3 separate regions of the Homo sapiens genome follow, and all the other regions are linked to region 2. The links are contacts of gene promoters, found by promoter capture Hi-C in blood cells and fetal thymus (Javierre and others, 2016). All regions are on one chromosome and are shown on one strand. Each heading gives the region's core, a stretch centred on a gene start or on the middle of the fragment in contact. The rest is flanking DNA. Distances are from core to core; before and after follow the strand shown.

Evidence for each region. Contacts are between HindIII fragments. The CHiCAGO score rates a contact against its expected background, and 5 or more counts as called.
Region 1: a contact is called between a fragment that was not itself captured here and the fragment with the promoter of MTUS2-AS1 in region 2, in 1 of 17 cell types (neutrophils). The highest score is 7.6, in neutrophils.
Region 3: a fragment that was not itself captured here is called in contact with the fragment with the promoter of MTUS2-AS1 in region 2 in 14 of 17 cell types (total B cells, monocytes, naive CD4 T cells and 11 more); the score reaches 14.2 in total B cells.

What each region holds. Positions count from the first base shown.
Region 1 is chr13:30,098,127-30,101,649 of GRCh38, reverse strand. No RefSeq gene overlaps it. Among named protein-coding and RNA genes, the nearest start is that of LINC00365, 9.0 kb to the left of the region's middle. The HindIII fragment of the contact is 1,313 bases long and covers 1,372-2,684 here.
Region 2 is chr13:29,485,690-29,489,072 of GRCh38, reverse strand. MTUS2-AS1 (MTUS2 antisense RNA 1) reads left to right here and starts at 1,323. Exons shown (of 3, transcript NR_046378.1): 1 at 1,323-1,573. MTUS2 (microtubule associated scaffold protein 2) reads right to left here. Exons shown (of 16, transcript NM_001033602.4): 11 at 1,068-1,173. The HindIII fragment of the contact is 24,751 bases long and covers 1-3,383 here.
Region 3 is chr13:30,117,154-30,120,623 of GRCh38, reverse strand. No RefSeq gene overlaps it. Among named protein-coding and RNA genes, the nearest start is that of LINC00365, 10 kb to the right of the region's middle. The HindIII fragment of the contact is 3,015 bases long and covers 192-3,206 here.

The sequences.
Region 1 (3,523 bases), core at 779-3,278, 610 kb before region 2:
TGGAGGGGGAAATCCTAGAGCCATAGTGCTTTTATTTTCCAATTTTTCAAGATTTGCATTCCTTTGATATATGAATACTAGACACATCTAGGTTTTTTAAAAAATTATTATCTTATTTTCAACAAACTGTAGTAACAGCTGCATAAAATTCTTTTTTGGAAAAAAGGAAGAAAACATACTCATGATTCTATGACCCGAGTACAACAATGGCTTCTTTTTATAATTTTTATTTTGCGCATAACCTCCCAGTCCTTAGTATATTAATTCAGTTCACCAAATTCTTTTTTTTTTTTTTTTTTTGATACGGAGTCTCGCTCTGTCACCCAGCCTGGATTGCAGTGGCATGATCTCGGCTCACTGCAACATCTGCCTTCCGGGTTCAAGTGATTCTCCCGCCTCAGCCTCCTGAGTAGCTGGGATTACAGGCATGCGCCACCATGCCCAGCTAATTTTTGTATTTTTGGTAGAGATGGGGTTTCACCATTTTGGTCAATGCCAAATTCTTATTAAGCGCTTACTACATGCCAAGTATTGTTCTCAGCATCAGGGATACAGAAGTGAACAAAACAGACAAAAGTCAAGAAGCATGCATATTTCAAATAGTTATAGTATAATATGCCATCTTCAATTAAATCTTTATGAATTTTAAATGTTATTTACATTTTTCTTAGCTACCATTTAGTGCTTGCATGTTACACTAATATGTTAAGAATATAATGTATTAAAACATTCATCAATGGGAAGCCACAGGCTCTTTGCAAATAGGGACTAGGAATGATGTTTTACCACTGCATCCCCAGGCCCTAGCACAATGCCTGATAGACAGAAGGTGCTTGGCAAATAATAGCTGGAATGGGTCCTTGTTTCTAGTTTGGGAATAGCAATAATGCTGCAGTAATCATCTTTGTATCTGGAGGTTTTGGCTTATGTTGAATTATTTCCCAAAGACAGATCTTTTCAAACTTTCCCACCAAAGTTCTAGTAGCAACAGAAAATGCACATTGGAGGGCTATAAATGGTGACTATAAAATATACATATATTGAAATATGATTAAATTGATGGGTGTGGAAAAATGTTTGTAACCCACAGCACTGAGTCCTTTCCACTCACTGCTATGTACCCCTGGGGAGACTAACATCCTGATTTGACCTGCACAGCAGGTGTGAGATACATGCCTGGGAGTGGGGCCTCTCGGCCAAAGGCTGTTCATCTTGATAGTTACTGCTGCGCATTACCATATTGCTTCCCTAACATTTTACAGCTATTTCTACGGCTACAGACATCATTGTGTGAGCAGACCAGTTTCAACTCAGTATTGCCAGAGCCGGTATTGTTAGGATTTGATTGTGTCTTCTAAAGATGTTGAAGCTTAAACCACCAGAACTTTTCAATGTGACCTTATTTGGAAATAAGGTTTTTGCAGATGACCAAAATAAGATGAGATCATTAGGGTGGGCCCTAATCCAATATGATTGTTGTCCTTACAAAAAAGGGGAAATTTGGACGCAGAGACAGGTGCACAGACAGGGAGGGCACTACTTGCAGATGAAGGCAGAGATGGGGTGAAGCATCCATAAACCGAGGAGCACAGAGACTGCCCGTGAAGCCCCAGAAGCTGGAGACAGAGGCCTGGGGCTGAGGTTGCCTCAGTCCTCAGAAGAAACCAGCCCTGCCCTCACCTTGATCTTGGGCTTCTGGCCTCCAGAATTGTGAGACAATAAATTTCTGTTGTTTAAGCCACTCAGTTTGTGGTATTTTGTTATGGAAGCCCTAGCAAACTAACAAAGATGTTTTATAATTTTTTTTTACAGTATAAAACTGTATATACTTTTTTTTACAACCTAGTAGGTATCAAATGACCCCTCAAGCCTGCTTTGTTTTTTATTTCATAACTTGAGAGAACAAACACTTTCCTGTGAAGTTTATTTTCTTATTGAACTTTTCCTTGACTGTGTCTTTCCTGGGGTGAGGTCTATCTCCACTAAGAATGTGCCTGGGTCAGTATGTGCTCATTAAATGAAGAATTAAGAATCCATTAATAGCCGGGCGCGGTGGCTCACGCCTGTAATCCCAGCACTTTGGGAGGCCGAGACGGGCGGATCACGAGGTCAGGTGATCGAGACCATCCTGGTTAACACGATGAAACCCCGTCTCTACTAAAAATACAAAAAAATTAGCCGGGTGTGGTGGCGGGTGCCTGTAGTCCCAGCTACTCCGGAGGCTGAGGCAGGAGAATGGCGTGAACCCGGGAGGCGGAGCTTGGAGTGAGCCAAGATCGCGCCACGGCACTCCAGCCTGGGTGACAGAGCGAGACTCCGTCTCAAAAAAAAAAAAAAAAAAAAAAAAAAAAAAAAAAAAAAAGAATCCATTAATAGCCTAATTGAATGTGATTCAATAAAATATGCCTGACCAAAGAAAGTACACTCTCTGATACTAACATTTCCTGTTAGCGCCCGTGATTACTCTGGATTTGCTGAAACGAGAGCCGGGAGACAGTTCTTCAGAGATCATTACTTTGCCCACACCATCGAGACAGATCTGTCCGGGAGTGTGAGCTCATTATGTGTCTGTCTTGCCCTAATAGATGGCACAATCCTTTAGGGAAGGCCGGGGAGGGATTTACTCACCTTCTTAATCCCCATCCCAGTAGTGCCTGGCACACAGTGGAGGCTCCATACAAGCTTGAGACGTGAGCATGGGATAGAAAATTGCATCTGCTTCTGAGAATGTGAAAGGGGCTGTCTGAAAACTGACCCTACATTATTAGTTCGGGTACTAATGGTAGCGGCCACAGTAGACAAACCTTCAAGTCTCAGGTTTAGATCTCACTCTCAAAGCCTGATGTGGGTTCGGTGGCTCTCTGCTTTCTTGCAGCTACTCCTCTGTAGAGGATGAGAGAGATGGAGGCCTCCAGGACAGGGAAAGAAAGAGATGGAGAAGCCACACTAGCTCTTAATGACCTCAGCCTGGGTGGAAGCCCGAAGCTGCTGCTCAGATTTCTTTGGCCACACTAGTCATGCAGCCCCAACCTAATGTCGGGGGAGGAGGGAGACAGGACAAGAGGTGGAGGAGTGTAGGTGAGTGTTGTCTCTGGCACTGTTATTCTGAACAGCAACTGGCCAGATGAGTGCATTTGTGCAGGTGTAAGGATGTTCACAATGGAAATCTCTTTAAAAGGAGCTTTTTTAAAAAATCAGAGTTTTCATCCAGAAGAGAAAAGTGAAAGATGGTTTGCTTTCGAAATGCCAGAAGTCTCTTGAGAAAACTGGGCCTGGGGTGTCTGGGCAGAGGCTAAGGGTTCCCAATGAGGGGATTGTTGGAGGTTGGGAGGAGTTGCCTGGTGGTGACCTTGCTTGGCAGTGAGGGACGGCTTCCAGTTCGGAATGTTAGGCTACACTTCCACACCTTCTCAGCACTCAGGCCGAGGATCCTGGATGCATTTCCAATTCCAATGTCTTTTGAAATCTGTCTTTTCTCTCTGAAAGAAATGACTGTTATTGATTAGTAAAAGCTTGCTGTTTT
Region 2 (3,383 bases), core at 74-2,573:
CCTCAGGTGATCCACCTGCCTCAGCCTCCCAAAGTGCTGGGATTACGGGTGTGAGCCACGGCTCCCGGCCTTTAATACACACTTTAACAACCAGCTGACTGGGAGGGAAAAGTAAAGCGAGAGAAAGTTGAAAAATAAACTGTACATATTAATGTAAATGCATGTGAAAGTGTAAAATGCTGCCTCTTTCACAAAGGAAAATCTCACTGGAACTTAGTAATGATGCTGTTATGACCCACGTAAAACCCAAAGATAATTCAAAGTTACAAAAATGTAGAAAGAAAGATCTGGAGACTTAACGCACACCCACGGTGAATGTGGTCTATGAGTGTAAGCTCTGGATACCCCGATCCAACCAGATGCTGCAGTGGCCCGGAGAACATCATAAATATGAAGAAAGTGTATCCATGCCGGGGCTTCCATTTGTTTTTATAAGGCAATAAACATCATAAAGCCTAGCCGGGTGTGGTAGTGGGCACCTGTAATCCCAGCTACTCGGGCTGGAGGCTCCAGCTGGGGCTGGAGAATCGCTTGAACCCAGGAGGCAGAAGTTTCAGTGAGCTGAGATCGCACCACTGCACTCCAGCCTGGGCAACAAAGTGAGACTCTGTCTCAAAAAAAAAAAAAAAAAAAAAGAGGAAAAAAAAAAGTGCACGATTTCCATGCCTGCTTTAGACAGTGGCCCTCAAGTGTGGCTACACATTAGAATCCCCTAAGGAGTCTTAAGAAATCTTGATGTTTACACTGCACTATGGACCAAGGACATCAGAATCCCTGGGGTGGGACTGAGGCTGGCATTGGTCTTTTGTTACCGCTCCCCAGGGGACGGGGAATTCCAGTATTCATCAAGGTTGAGGATAACTGCATTGGAGGAAAGAAGCAGCTAACTACCTGGATCCTTAATTCCTATCTCTTCTTTTCCCAGGAGCCAACAGGAAAAAATGCACCAGGAGGGAAAGACAGGAAAGGAGGGACAAGAGAGGAAGGGGGGCTCCACACATCTGCAGCAGGAAAGGCTCGGATTGCACCACCCACCCCTGCCTGCTGCACACGAGGCTGGGAGCTACCTTGGACTTTGTGGTCGTGGTCATCCTGCAGGATTGTGATGGCAACTGTGTGGTTATTTTCCATCTCTAGGAGAGCAGCATCATGGCTGGCGGTGAGATCTTCCACCTGGAGGAGAGTCGCAGTTACTGGTTAGACAGAGAGCTGCTTGGAGAACAGAAGTGGAATTCCGTGAGTGGAAAAGGTCCGTGACCCAAAACATCAATGACAAGTCACAGCCTTGTGCCGAAGCAGGAGAGCTGGACTTTGGTGGTGATGTGGCAGCCCTCGGAATCACGGGGAGGTCACTGCCACAACCTGGCTCTTTGTAGGGGGGTCCAACTCCAGGCAGGGGATCACTGCCTGAGGTACCTCTTTAGAGTCCTGAGTGTGGCTCCTGGACCATCCCCTTCCCACTGCTTGTCCACGCGCTTGCACCGCTATGAGCGATGACGGCAAAGGAAAAGAAAAGCGTCCTCCCTACGAGGTGGTCTGTTTCCCAGTGGCAGGGGGAGCTACGGTACACAAGGTAAGTGGAGGGAACGAATACTTATTAGGCTGTCCGAGATAGGCTACTCTACTTAACCCTCAGAGCCACCTTATGAAGTATATCTTTTTATGCCCAATTGACAGATGTGGAAACTGAGGCTAAGAGAAATATGAAACGTTTTGCCCAAGGGCTAATAAATGGCAGAGCTAACAGTGAGACCCAGGTCTGTCTGACTCCAAAGGCGAGGCTCTTTCTAATGCACTGTTGTTTTGTGTTCACCTCCCCCAAGCAAGACTAGCAACGAACACCTTAGGATTCTCTCGCCAATACCAGGTGAGGCTGGCAGGTCTGTGTGTCTGTTTTTAAACATAAGGTTGCCCACCAGATTATAACTTGGACCTTCTGCTCAGGCAATGTGGTGCTCCTGGGAAGGGCTGCTGCCTCCCAGCTGCAGGAACACGTCTAGCAGTTTAATCGCAAGTAGTGCAGCCAGTCCAGTCCAGGATTCTTCATTTTCATGTTTCCTGACCCCCTCCCCTACCCCTCACCTGCCTGCCTACCAGGTTTACTGTTTTTGTTATTGTCATTGTGGCTGTTGTTTTAACTTCAAATGTATGACTTGCAGGAGTAATTGTCTAAAACGACCTCTCCCTATGATTGCAAATCTCTCCTGGATGCACTACAACGGTGTTTATCCAAATTCTCTGTCAGTGATCCACTGTAAAAATCACCATTGTACACAATATCACAGTGCACACACCCACACACAACCATACCCAAAACCAAAGTTTCACAAAAACAAAACTTCCCCTTCCATTTGGAAAAATCTGGTTTAAAAATGTTTCCTCTATTTTACTTTGTTTTACAAAACGCTAGTTAGAGGCCACTACATTTATTTCACAAGCTAATAATGCATCAAAACTTGGCATTTGAAAACCACTGAACTAGAAAATGTGCACTGGTCTTGAAGCTCCTTGGTGGCCCAGTTAAGAAGACATTGCTTCTAGCTGGTCATATTCAGCCACCTCTGGGCTCCCACATTTCTCTGGGGGAGAATTCACAGGCTAACCTTTGATCTGAATGGAGAAAGGGCTCTCCCCAAGAAAGGAAGCCTGACTGTGAAGTTGACACGTGAGGATATATTTGTTTTAAAAAAGGGTGGTTTCCCATTCTGCATACTATAATTTCATCAAACAATTATCCTGACTTCTCTCTCTTATGGTAAATGAGAACTTCATCCACTAAAACAAATATCACTGAGCAAAACCTACAGCAGACCCATGGCATTAGGAAAGCTGCATCGCAGTGTGAGAACGGACGTGGTGCACAATGGCTCACTCCCATTTAAAGGCCATTCTTGATCAAACCGTATTTACTTGAAGCTCAGAGCTATGAACCCACCAGGAGAAAGGCTGATTACAACAGTATTTAATTGTCCAATTCCTGTTTATAGGAGGTTTTCATGGAATCTTTGTCCAAAACCTTTCAATCTGTTGGAAAAATAAATCACTGGTTTAAAAAAGGAAATATCTTTTCTTTCTGCTCCATTACAGGTGTCACTTAGGCCATGGCACACTGTAAAAACACAGGCCCCCGCTTCCCCCGCCCCCACCCCACACACTGTTTGGAGGGTTGCTACACAGTTCAGGAGAGCAAAAAACCTTTCATCGGCCCTTGGCGTGATTCTAATTTATTCGGTGCTTACACAAATGATCATGAGTGGTTTCAGAAAAGACAGACAGATGGAAGAACTAAGTTTCAGAAGAGTCCCATGAGTCCCAGGAGGTGGATGTGCCCTGACTGGCAGTACTACACTGTGTTTGTGGCATCAATGTATGCCATTCTGGCT
Region 3 (3,470 bases), core at 450-2,949, 630 kb before region 2:
GCCTTTGTTTTTTGAGCAGAGGGGGTTTCCATCATTTTTGTTGATTTGCAAGGTTCTTGCATATTTTAGATACTGTTTCCTAGTTATTTTTGACATTGCAAGTGTCTTCTCCCAATCTTTCATCTGTCTCATAACCTTGTTCTTCTTTGAATAGAACCCTTTGAGTGGGATGTGTTCAAATTCATTAAGCTTTTCCCTTATGCTTTGCACTTTTGAGGTTTTGTTTAAGAAGCATTTCCCCACCTCTAGGCCTCCAAGATCCTCTCTGGGACACTGCAGCTGCTTTCAAATTGAATGTGACAACAAGCACATGTTGTGTGCTTTGCACCTGCACAACCTCTTCCTCATGGTTGGACCTGCAACTTTAGCTTCAAGCCTGGCATCTGAGTCTGGGCCTCTTATCGATGAGGATACAAACCCTTCCCTACTGTTGTCCACACAATCCTCACCAGCATGTGTTATGCTTCAACCCCAGATATTCATGCCCCTCCTGCACCTCTCTGCTAATGTCACACTTTCTCCTTTTTCCAAAGTGCTTTTTGCTCTTCCCTTCACTAGATTTGGCCATCTTTCAAAGCCTGCTTCTTCAAAAACAAAACCAAAAACTGGTGAATCTAGCCTTCTTTGATCCCTTTGTTTCTACCCTTTTATCCATATTTTAAAAATCATGATTGGAACCTTATTTCCTAACGATTACATGTGTGCTCTGCTTTCTCCCTGGGGATCATCGTCCATCTTATATTTATTTTGCCCATGGCTCCTGGGCAGTGCTCTTAGGAGGCACCTAATAAATGCTCTCTCTCCAAATTCAAGCTGCTGCCAAAGACCGATTACTTAAGCCTCCAAAACCTTTTTAAAAATGCATTCCTTCCTCTCCATCTCCAAAGCCACATCCGTGCCTGGGTTTAATCATTGCACGCTCAGACTTTTACAACCTTGTGTGCCTTCTTTCTTCCTGTCTGCCTCGGCTCCAGTGAGAGCTGAGAACAGCCGCAAAATCACCCAGCCTCAGAATCTGGGTTCAAAGAATCTTACACAGCATTGAATCCACCCTGCCTCAGGGCTTGAATTCTCTTGACAATATTCACATTCCTAACAAATGGCTGCACAGTCTCTGCTTGAATACCTTCAGCCACGGTGGAGTCACTATCTTCTGAGGCTGTCCATTCCCTCTTTGTCCAGACAGTGCTTCCTTATTTCAAGCTGAAACTCGCCACCTTGCATCTTACAACTGGAATCCTAACTTTTCCTGTTGGTACCATTCAGAAAACTCTTAATGCCTCTTTTGGTAAATGTATCTCCCAAATTGTGGTGCTCAGAACCAAACACAGTATGATCAAGTGAAGAATGAAAGAGAACTCTCTTCTCTTACCCTGTGTTAGTTTCCTGGGGCTGCTATAACAAATTTACTGCAAACTTAGTGGCTTAAAACAACAGATATTGTCCAGGCACGGTGGCTCATGCCTGTAATCCCAGCACTTTGGGAGGCCCGGGGGGGCGGATCACGAGGTCAGGAGATTGAGACCATCCTGGCTAACATGGTGAAACCCTGTTTCTACTAAAAATACAAAAAATTAGCCTGGCCTGGTGGCATGTGCCTGTAGTCCCAGCTACTCGGGAGGCTGAGGCAGGAGAATCGCTTGAGCCTGGGAGGCAGAGGTTGCCGTGAGCTGAGATCGAACCACTGCAGTCCAGCCCGGGTGTCGGAGTGAGACTCTGTCTGAAAAAAACAAACAAACAAACAAACAAACAAAACAAACAAAAAAAACCCCAAAAACCAGATGTTTATTCTCTCACAGTTCTGGAGACCAGAATTCCAAAATCAGTATCACGGAGCTCAAACCAGGGCTATGCTCCCTCCAGAGGCTCCAGGAGAGAATCTGCTCCTTGCCTCTCCCAGCTTCCAGGGGCTGCCGACATTCGTTGACTGCATCACTCTGATCTTTGAGGCCAGCATCTGCAAAGCTCTCTCTGCTGTGTCTTTATATTTCCTTCTGTTTTGTGTGTGGTCAAATCACCCTCTGCCTCTCTGGTATAAGAATGCATGTGATTGTATTTAGGACCCAACTGGATAGTCTCCCCATCTTAACATCCTTAATTCAATCACACTTGCAAAGACCTCCTTCCCCTTCTCTCCATATAAAGGAACATTCCCCGTTTCCAGGGATTAGATATCTTCGGTTGAGAGGAGGGGATTTTTTTCACTCTACCACAAGGTTGTCTACCTTGAAAGACAACACTTCTGTAAGAGAGCCTAGCATCTCTTTAGTGTTTCTGGTGGTCACATCAAATTGTTGACTTTTATACTGAGCACATTGTCTTTACAGACCCCAATTCATTTGCATCGGTGCTTACTAAGCACATTGTCTTTACAGACTCTAATTCATTTGCATTGGTGCTTACTAAATATATTGTCTTTACAGACCCTAATTCATTTGCATTGGTGCTGTTGATTGCTTGATCCTGACAACAATATGTTATCTCAAATAAACGACACGTTGTTGGCTTTAAACTGCAGTTCCAATTCTGTTGATACCTTCTGATATGGTTTGGCTCTGTGTCCCCACCCAAATCTCATCTGGAATTGTAATCCCCATGTGTCAAGGGACGGACCTGGTTGGAGGTGGTTGGGGGTGATTGGATCATGGGGGCAGTTTCCCCCATGCTGTTCTTGTGATTGTGAGGGAGTTCTCACGAGATCTGGTTTAATAGTGACAGTTTCCTCTGCGTGTGCTATCTCTCTCGCCTGCCACCATGTAAGAAGTGCCCTGCTTCCCCTTCACCTTCCACCATGATTGTAAGTTTCCTGAGGCCTCTCCAGCCTTGTAGAACCGTGTGTCAATTAAACCTCTTCTGTTTACAAATTACCCAGTCTCAGGTATTCTTTATAGCAGTGTGAAAATGGACTAATACATTTTCTCAGACCTATCAAACAGGTGGGATTGCTGTCAACTTAATTAAATTCATAGTTTTAAAATTTGGTGAGTATTTGTTTAGTCTTATCAGTGATCATGGAGATGTTTAGTGGGCCTGACAGTGCAGAACCCTGTGGCACATCACCGGAAGCCTCTCTCTGGGTTCCATTGAACCTAGTCCCTTCCCCTTTTGTCCTATCTGACTCTTTTCATAGTCTCCATTGCTGATTTATGCAGGGCGTCTTGCACTGGATAGAAGTTGGGAGTTACGATTTTGTATTTTTTCAAGCTTTATTTCTTATATTCCAAGCCCTATTTTAAATTCATTCTTTTAGATCTACTCTGACTCTTTTAAACCTAGTTAAATCTGACACCGCAGCGAAGATAAGATTAGCGTCGTGGTTCTCAAACTTCAGAGTGCATTGGAATCACCTGAGGGTTTGCTAAAACACGGGTGCCAGGCCCCATCTTCAGAGTTTCAGATTCAGTAGTTCTGGGGCAAAACCTGAGAATTTGTATTCCTAAGTCCCCAGGTGCTGCTGCTGCTGTTGGTCT